Linked DNA regions of Homo sapiens: region 1 is linked to region 2. Evidence: promoter capture Hi-C in human tissues and cell types (Jung and others, 2019). All regions are on one chromosome and are shown on one strand. Each heading gives the region's core, a stretch centred on a gene start or on the middle of the fragment in contact. The rest is flanking DNA. Distances are from core to core; before and after follow the strand shown. Region 1 has its middle 10 kb from the start of SELENOP. Region 2 holds the start of GHR (growth hormone receptor).

Evidence for each region. Contacts are between HindIII fragments. The study calls those that stand out against the background at their distance.
Region 1: a contact is called between a fragment that was not itself captured here and the fragment with the promoter of GHR in region 2, in 1 of the 25 tissues and cell types used here (heart left ventricle).

What each region holds. Positions count from the first base shown.
Region 1 is chr5:42,819,553-42,824,886 of GRCh38, forward strand. No RefSeq gene overlaps it. Among named protein-coding and RNA genes, the nearest start is that of SELENOP, 10 kb to the left of the region's middle. The HindIII fragment of the contact is 6,385 bases long and covers 1-4,895 here.
Region 2 is chr5:42,419,678-42,424,688 of GRCh38, forward strand. It overlaps GHR (growth hormone receptor), which reads left to right and starts at 3,762. Exons shown (of 10, transcript NM_000163.5): 1 at 3,762-4,278. RefSeq lists promoters at 3,045-4,130, 3,554-4,126, 3,736-3,836, 4,034-4,802, 4,455-4,802 and 1 more, cis regulatory regions at 3,045-3,553, 3,891-3,931 and an enhancer at 3,758-3,907. The HindIII fragment of the contact is 10,174 bases long and covers 1,694-5,011 here.

The DNA.
Region 1 (5,334 bases), core at 453-2,952, 400 kb after region 2:
TGAAACTCCCTGCCCTGTTCTATTTCTCTCTGACCACCAGTGCATGCAGCTCCTGTCACGTACCCCTTGCTTGATCAAATCAATCATGACCCTTTCTTGTGAAATCTTTAGTATTGTGAGCCTTTAAAAGGGACAGAAATTGTGTACTCAGGGAGCTCAGAATTTAAGGCAGTAGCTTGCCGATCCTCCCTGCTGAATAAAGCCCTTCCTACTATAACTCGGTGTCTGAGAGCTTTTGTCTGCGGCTCATCCTGCTACATTATTGGTCTATCTGCAATCAGAAAGCAGGTGTTTCACTATGTCCTCTTTTCTTTACATGTGAGCTTAGCAGGAACCTCCTGACCCAAAAGAATTTCATCCAAGTGTTCAAGTTGATTGTTATCAACTTAAAGTAGTTTTGAAAGTTGTTTCAAAAGAAAGTGCCAAGGATTATGTGTATTGAGGCCAGTGTATGTCTAAAACCTCAGGTGACAAAAGGAAAAGATGAGGAGCTTGTAATGTTTGAAAGGAATTTATTCTTAGAGGGCATGGTGTCTCATGCCTATAATCTCAGCTACTCAGGAGGTTGAGATGGGATCACTTGCACCCAGGAGTTCGAGGATACAATGAGCTATGATTGTGATGCAGGATTTTTTGCTTCTTAGCTCAGCTAAAATCTAGGTTCTTGTCTCACAACCAGAAAAAATTAGGCATGCAGACACATTGGAAGGCAGGGAGAGTGGAATTTATTAAAAGAAAGCTCTCAGCAAAAAAAAAATTAAAAAATTAAAATGGGGGGTTCCTGCCAACAGGCTTCCACCTCACAGATTGAATACCAGCCCGCCACACAAGAGCTGAAGAGACAGGGCTCCTCCCCACTCCATAAGGTGAGAATTCCCAGTGGCTCCACCCCATTCTCCCAGTGCACAAGGGGACCCCTAGTCGGTTGTGGGCATCTTTAGGCAACCCTCCTGTACACAATGACCTGGGCAGCATTTGGCTGTCTCCTGTCTCTATCAATTGCACCACTGAACTTCAGCCTGGGTGAAAGAGCAAGACCACACCTCTAAAAAAAGAAAATAATAATAATAATAAAATGGGCTGGGAGTGGTGCCTAACACCTGTAATTGCAGCACTTTGGGAGCCCAAGGTGGGTGGATCACCTGAGGTCAGGAGTTCAAGATCAGCCTGGCCAACATGGTGAAACCCCGTCTCTACAAAAAATACAAAAATTAGCCAGGCGTGGTGGCGGGTGCCTGTAATCCCAGCTACTCGGGAGGCTGAGGCAGGAGAATGGCTTGAAACTGGAAGCAGAGGTTGCAATGAGCAGAGATCATGCCCTTGCACTCCAGCCTGGATGCCAAGAGAAACTCCATCTCAAAAAAAGAAAAGAAAGAAAGAAATTGATCCATTCCTAACAGTCTCTTCTGTGCTGGGCAACCTGGCACCAGTCAGCATTTTCAAGAAAGCAGAATTTCCAAACAAACACCAACTCGGTATTATACAAAATTACATTAAATCAAACAAATCAAAGGAACATTTGTTGGTTGCTTATGCTAGGCACAATGCTAAATGTTGGGACTACAGAGATTTAAAAATAAAAACAAAAAATGGTATTTCTTGTTCTCAGGGACCTCAAAATCTGATAGGGTAGACAGACAAGTAAGCAGAAAAAACAAAGTATAAAGCTTGATCCCCTCTAGGATGACTGTAAGCACAAGATTCTGTTGGAAACTTGGAAATGAAGACAGGAGCATTGAACCCAGCCTGGAGATAGGATCAGTATCAGGTTGGTGCACTTTCCAGCAAGTTCAACAGGCATTATCTTGGATTTTACATTCCACCTACAGAATACTCAGCAAACCTGACCACAGCACTGCCTAGACCAGGGGTGTCCAATCTTTTGGCTTCCCTAGGCCAGATTGAAATAATTGTCTTGAGCCACACATAAAATACGCTAACACTAACAATAGCTGATGAGCTAAAAAAAATTTTAAAACACTATGTATAAAGACGGTCATTCTCTATTTATTATTCCACAATGCTTTTAATTTAAGCATCATGGAAATCTTTCCCCGTCATAGACATTCTTCTGTGTCAGTGTGTATAGAGTTACCTCATTCTTTTTAAAATGCACATTATTTTATTCTATGAATGGTCTGTAATGTGTATACTCATTTTCCCTTTCTAACTGAAGCAAAGATTTTGTAAATAAGACATTCATTTTTATTTTACAGTTTTCCATGTTTATGTAACTGAAAAATATAAATATTTAAATAAAGCAATCAAATTTAGAATATATACTTTCGCTGATCCGAGAATTAATGAAAAAATGGCAAAATATTTATTCTCTTTGAAAAATGACTCAATTGTCATTTAAGAGTTATAACTATTAAAACAAGCCATGACCTTAGTCCTGAATACATATTTGTGTAGGATTGTCTAATGTTGGGACTCAGAAAAACATACCCAAAATGAAGGCCGCAGAAGCAGCCTCAAAACAGAAATTTTTCTCTGACCTTCTCCTACCCTACTATCTCTCAATCCCATTCTCTCTCAAGGCTAGCCATAAAAACTAGAATCTGTCTTACTCAAGGTGGGTCATAGAAACTAGAACCCCTTTACCCAAAGCCAGCCATAAAATCTAAAAATTTTACTCTAACTTTCCCTCCACTATAACTGCACAAAAACTGGCCACTAAAAAATTAGATAACTAGACTTATCTTGTTTGATTATAGGTCATAAGACCCCCATTCCAGAGAGGGCCCTGTGCCATATCCAAAAAAAGGAATACATGCTCAGAGAGGCGAAGAAAAATCTAGACAGACAGACCTTTCTGAGTTTCCCCACTCAGTCTATTAACATTAGATCATATTTTTTGTCCAATCATGTTTCTACTTGCTGCCCATACTTTGTTAAACCTAAACATAAAAATGGACAATTTCCCCTGTATCTTTGGGTCTTAATTTTAAAGGCTCCCATGTACACATTAATAAATATGTATGCCTTTTCTCCTATTAATATGCATCTTATCAGTGATTTTCTGCAAATCTTCGGAAGGCAAAGGGGAAGTTTTCCCTTTTCCCCTATACTAATCTTTAAGGTACATATTCTAACTTTTACAAGAAGCATAAAATCATGTGTGCACGTATATTTCTGTGTATGTGCATGTGTATGTGTGCATGCATGTGCATTGGAAACCTAGGCCCTGGAGCATGACTCCAGAGTGAGAGTAAACAGAAGACAAGCACATGAACAAAGACTGGGAAGATATGCTCAGAATTAACAGTGGTTCCCCTTCAGAATAAACATGATTTTTAGTTCTTCTTTTTATTTTTATGTATTTTCTAGAAAGTCTAGAATAATAATAGCTATCATTTATTGGATGTTTACTATATTCCAGTCATATTCTGTCTTTTATAGGTAATAAATAACACATTTAATCATCACAATAGTCTTTACCCTGTGAGAAAATAGGTACGAAGATGTTAAGTAACTTGACCTATATTCACAGCTAAAAGATAGAGGAGCTGGGATTCAAACCCAATGGTTTCAGAGCTCCAGAGTTTAACTGCAACAATAAACATGAATTTATTTTTCATCATAAATGTGGATAAGTGTGTATGTACATACAAATATATATATATATATATACACACAGACACACATTTATATATGCATGTATATAAAGGCTAGACACATGCATGCTGAGGCTTGGTACATTTAAATAAATGCATAACACCTTAAGTTGAATTCCATTCTCGTGGTTGCTGGAGAATAGTCATTATAACTATTCTTCAAAAGACCTCATTTGCTAGTCTTTTTCAACTGGACAAAGAAGAAACTAGAGTGAGGAGGACAAAGGCTTTGCACAACTTTTCCTACTACTTGACTAGCAGCAGACTCAGGGCTGCTGAGTCTGCAAGCAATAGGAAAGGCTTTGCAGATTCAGATTGCTTTTTGGAGATTACAATTCTGATCGATTTCAGATGGGCATACTGTACAATTATGAAATGCAGATTTGAAATCCTTTTAGTCAAACTTTATCCAGAAAGCAATTTTGAAATCTCTCTCCTCAACAATCTTCTAGCCTCTGTTTGAACACTACCAGGTCAGAAAGCCCACCACTCAGAGTGGGGCCATGTTCTCTTGCTGAGCCTCACATATTCTAAGTAATGGTCTCCTTACACTAATCTGACATCTCTTGGTGCAAGCTCTGTACTCAACAAAGACACTGAAAAATATATAATCCAAAGCTGATGTGGTTCATCACTTTGCACAGCTCCTTCCTTTTTAATTCTACCTATTTTTGTATGTTCCCACTCCACTTACCCTGTGAGATAACAAAGGTAAAGCTAATATTTAAAAGTAACATGTTTCCATGGAAAACAACTGTTTCTTTTGTGCTCTCATAGTCTGGGGTCATCTTATCCTCTTAAATGTTACAGCGTTTAACTATAAGAGTTAAAAACTAGTGCTAAGTAATGGGCCAATAATATTCCTAAAGTGCTGGGATGTACTGCCATAAAACAAACAAGAACCTAGGTATGTAATATTCCAGGATTCTAATTCCCCAACTCTAACTCCAAACCATCAGACCCTGGCCTCCAGCTCATATATCTTTGACTGCTGGACACATCTGACTGCAGAACATCCTGGACCAAACCTTGGCTACTGCTTCTTAGGATGTTCCAGCTTCAACTTTTGATTTACCACACCCTGGGTTCTGGCTCTGCTCATATTTGGCATCTCCTCATGCCTTCTTGACAATATTTGCATATATATTGTCATTATTTCAATTTCAGGACCGACGCAGTTCATGTTCCTGAAGGCTTACCCAGGCAGATGGTATAAATCCAGATCTCCTTCCCACCTGACTTCCCTCCACTCCTCAGCATGGCTCCTTTATTCCAGCCTCAGGGCCTCTCTCACACATGATCAGCATCTAGGGTTCCAATGTACATGCATGCACATGTACACACATACACATGTGCACACGTACACATGCACACACGTACACATGCACACACGCACTGCACCTTTGTTAACACTATCTTCCTGTCACAAATTGCCTTTCCTTCTACTCTCAGATTCAAATCCTAGCACAGAGTTAAAAGTTCAGGCTCTGGAAATCAGATTGCCTGTGTTTGTATCCGGCTTTTCTACATATTAACTAGATGACCTTGGGCAGGTTACTTAACTCTCAATGTCTAGGTTTCCTCAGGCAAAACGAGAATAATAGTAGTACTCATCTGTGGTGGCACTGCTAAATGTCTATTTGATGTCAATTTCCTTCCTTCTTCACCAATATCCAACTCCATAGCTTTTTAGGCAGCTATGTTGTCAGATGAAAGA
Region 2 (5,011 bases), core at 2,512-5,011:
CTAGGGCATGGTACCCGGACATTTGGTCAAATATTATTCAAATAAATTTAGAATTTATCACAAATGTTTGATATCATAATTTGATTTACAAATATCAATCTAATACTTTATTTTACAGCTGAATGATCTCAGAGAGCAACCCCTTCCTTCTATAGGCCAAGAAATGGAGTCATTGTGAGATTAGTAACTAATTTACCCAAAATCACAGAGGACCCACACAGGATCCCAAGGCTCCTGACTAACAATCCTATGTTCTTCAACTACAAATGCTATAAAACAAAACAGCTATAAAATGCTACTTTAAGTGTTTTGGCCTCTTTTGTTTTGTTTTGAGAAGAAGCTTTGGCATTTTATAGTACAACAGAGTGACTAAAGCCATGCTCTAACCTCAGATAACTGTAGATTTAGGAAGTTTATACTGTGGTGTTTTATGGTTTGGGGAGATGGCGATCTGACCTAGATATCTGCACTTGAATATATATAATCAGAATTATTTTCTAATTGTTTCTATTGTCTTCAAGGCAGTTTATATTTTTTGCTAAGCCCTACTGGGGATGTATAAAAGACTGGGGAAGGGTGGGCCATAATAAGGTAAGGCCATAATAAGGTAAAATAGGTTGGACAAGATAAGTTAGCCAATATCTGAGTAAAGACTTCAAGGAACTGTAGGAGGAAGCAAATGAATATTTGTGGAAGTGTGTTTAAATCAGAGAGAAAAGCCAGCAAAAAGCCTTCAAGTTAGGAGTCTGCCTGGCCTGCTTAAGAAACAGCAGGGAGGCCGGTGTGCTGGGAGCAGAATGGATGACCCAGTGATGGGGAAATTCATGGGAGATGAGGTGTGGGGCAAAGGTACATAGCTCACGTAGGGTCTCATGGGCCATTTTGAATTTTATTCTGATTTGAATGGGGAACCATTGGAGGGTTTTGAGCTGAGGAATGACATGATATTAATTTTAAAAGGAATGACTATGGCAACTGAATTTATACTTTGGGTTGTTGTTGGTGTTGGTTGGGGATTAGGGGTGGGGTTTGTCAAAGCAAGCAGACCAGTTGAGTTGAGAGACTACTGCAGTAATCTGAGAAATTCTGGTGGTTCAGACCAGGTGTCTCTGGACCTCTCCAAGAAAATAGACAGAGTTTTGAATGTGGAATGTGATTGGCAGAGAAGAAGTAAGGATGATTTCAAAGGTTTGTGGCCTGGGTAACTGGCAGGAAGTAGTTGCCATCTACTGAGATGGAAATGTCACCCACTGTGATTGGAGTATGTTTAAGGAGAAAGAACCAGAGTTCAGATGTGGACATGTCAAGTTTCAGAGGTCTGTTAGACATCCAAATGGAGATACCCAGTTGTTAGCCTGGAGCTCTGTGGAGAGATCTGGGTTAGAGATATAAATCCAAGAGATACAACTTTTCATTCAATTTGATTATTTATTGGACGCTTTATAAACTCTGTAAATACTGGGCACTAACCTAGACATTGCAGGTACAGATATTAAGAATATATAGTTTCTCCCTCAGAAATCTCTTAATTAATGAGAAAAGCAGACATGTCAACAAAACTGCAATATTTAATAAAAGAAGATATAAAGGCCTATAAAGGTGCTGATACAGGGAGAATTAATTAATTCCACCCTGGGGAATAGTCAGGAAGACCTTCAGAGAGAAAGTAAACAATTGATTGGAACTTTAAGATTAAGAAGGATTTCTCTGGGTGGACAAAGTAGGATCTTCCAAGCAGAGTGGAAACCATGAGCAAATGCAGTTTCATTCTTCAGAAGGTAAATGTGCTCTGGCATGCCTTAACTTATAACAAATTAATCAACTCAATACCTGCTACATTTTCCCTCACAATTTGGAATATATAAAGAGGCACATACTACTATGGACCAATACCTGGTCATATATGAGATTGAAGGACCTTTACTTACGAGGCTTAAAAATAAAGACTGCCCTTCATGTCAGTTGCAGGTTTATATCTAGTTCTATAGTATTAACTGAGGTGTCTTTTCCTATGTTTTCTGTGCATGATGACTTTTTAAAAATCAAAGACAGAGCAGCAGCCAGAGTAGTCTAGTTTCATGGCACACAGAATGGAGGATATTGCTGAACCCAGATTTAAAAAAAAAAAGAAGTCAATTCTTATTTTTTTAAGTATGGCCCTGAGCTCATCTCAGAGCATAAACAATAGAATTTAGAATATCTTTTATGACTCCGTCTGGCACCTCCTAAACTAGATCAAGATTCTCTAGCTCAGGGAAGAAGGGCAAAGGATGAGAAGGCACAGAGAGGATATAAACAGAGAGGTTGGTAGTGCCAGGCTCTGAAGAAGGTCCAACTTGGAAGGTCATTTCAGACAGGCGTGGAGTCAGCATTTGAGGCCTGTCTGGTCTCTACTCCTGCCAGGACTACCCTGTCAGCCAGCTTGGCAGGTATGGACCACCCAGCAGGAGTTTTTCTTGACTGTGCCCTAATCTTTTACTTTCCCAAGTTTCTCTATATGGGTACCTCCCCTTTTAAAAGCTCCAGACACAGCCAAGCACCACTATTGCTCCAGCAAAGTATGAAGCCCCAGAAATCAATGGTTTGGGGAAGAGTCTTAGGGGAACTAAATGCCTCCTTATTTTTAGATGCCATAGAACAAGAGCAGTTCAGGATCAATAACCATCCCACCCCATGATAAAACACGCCCCTTCCAGAATCTTTCCTTTTTCGTTCATTCTAGGTGTCTGTCTGGAACAGCTGGGGTATTTGAGCCACAGCTGAGCTTCTGAAAGCATTCTAAGGAACAGTTTTTCACTTATCTGATTCCTTTGAAAATAGGGGTATCTTATGTGATATCTGCTATCCCAGAGTCTTTGGTCCTCTGTTCCTTCTCAAGTCTTGGCTCCCGTGTACTACTTCAAAGCCCTATAGATATTTTATTCTAAAGAAAAGAAACTTGGTTCCTTTAAGTTGTTTAAACATTTCTTTCTGGGTATAAACTTGGGTTTGTGTCTGGGAGCTCTGTTAAAAAAAAAAAGTCTTTAGTAAGCCAAAGCTGTTAGAAGCTTATAAGTAAGTGACATTACAATTGACCGTCAGTAAATAGTGGAAAGATTGCATGACTAGCTACTCCTTCAGATCTGAGACAACCTGGAGCTAGATTTTTGTACTCTCTACTCAGAAAAGCATATAGTGACTTGGGGTTTGATGCTGTACAAAAATGACATGCTTATGCACAACTTTAACTTTCTGCAACACTTTTACAACTTCTTGTGAATGAAGTAGGCAGGGCTCGCATTTGACAGATGAGCTATGTCCAGCGTGAGGCAGAGTTAAAACCCTTTTCCTGGCTCAGGAACTTCAGGCTGGGGCCTGTGTCTGCTCTCCCTGCATCCCTGTCCTCTAGCAGATACCTCTCTGCTAACATGCTGAGTGTCCTTGGTAAATTACTCATTCTCTCTGTCTCCGTCTTCTAACCTCCACAATAAAGTCCTTCGTAGTTTTAACTATCTTTTCACTGTGCCCCAGTGAGCAGGAGTTTGGAACTTGATTGTTGATGGAAAGGCAATATTTGGATGGCTAAACACGCTTTCCAAGGTATCTCGCTGATCTTCCTCTCATTCCTGGAGATAGCTAACCTTTTTGTAAGTGTTTCTTTGAGTCTGTGGACTGCACTTAACGCTCTTGTAGGTCCTGCTTTCATTTGGAACGGGCAGGCGGAGAGGAAGGAAGTGTATTGCAACTACCAATATTTTCCTCTAGGAGGAGCCGCGCAGCTCAGTTGAGAGTGACACGCACCAACTCCAGCTCCTCGCCGGGAAGACTTCATCCCAGCAACTCGGAATGCTTGGCCCGGGCGGCACTCGGCCTCTCCGCAGCAGTTCTCGAACTGGCCTCCTTGAACGTCCGCTTCGCCTTCGCTTCTGCAACCTGGATCTGGGGGACTGCGGGCCAGGCGCGGCGTGACCCCTGGTGAACGGTGGCCGCCTTTTCCCACCCCTGCCCTCCCATCCTCCCTTCCCGTTTCACCCCGCCCCCTCTCTCCTCCCCAAGCCTGACAGCCCGCGAGCTGCCAAGCAGGGCGCAGCCATGGGAAGAGGAGGAGGGCTAGGGAGCGGCGGCGGCGGCGGCAGCGGCAGCAGCAGCTGCTACAGTGGCGGTGGCGGCGGCGGCTGCTGCTGAGCCCGGGCGGCGGCGGGGACCCCGGGCTGGGGCCACGCGGGCCGGAGGCCCCGGCACCATTGGCCCCAGCGCAGACGCGAACCCGCGCTCTCTGATCAGAGGCGAAGCTCGGAGGTACTGGAGTGGGGCTCCGGGAGTCTGGCTTTATTTTCCTCCTGTTGTGCCAGGGGGCCTGAGGGTGAACCCTGGGACTCTAGTTGTTTATGAAAACGGGAGGATCTGTCTTATATATTTACACGGATAATTTTTTATTCCGGATGACTTGGCTGTGCTCCCCTCCTCCTTGCGAAGAAGTTGTTTTCTGCTGGTGGGTTGTTGTAACCCAATCTAGTGTGTGTGTGTGTGTGTGTGTGTGTGTGTGTGTGTGTGTGTGTGTGTCTGGAAGTTGGTGAGGGCGGCAGGGAGTTGCGGGCGACAGACGAACCATCACACTCTGGCGTCTGCTCTGGCCCGCGAGTAGTGTACGTGGAGGGGTTTACTCCGGAGACAGTTTTGTTAAAGTCATAAAAGTTTTGCTAGTGTGTTTCTGTTTGCCATCATCTGCCTGGCTGCGGCAGGAACTGCCGAGGCTGCTGCTGTTGCGCGGGGAAGAATCCCCGGCAGCGCGACTGGAGAGACTGGGGAGGTCGAGCTGTGCGCGTGGACACAGCGCGCAGAGCGCGCGGTCTTTTGCGCGTTTGTGCGGGCCGCAGCCGCACGTTGGCACCGATGGAACTGGGGTCAGTAGAGTGACAGCCACCAGTCCGCATGAACTGGGGTAAGTGGAAATTGTGGCGAGCCGACCTCCCCCAGCTTTTGACACACTAGTGGTTGTAAAATCAACCAGGCTTAAAGTTTTGACAGAACT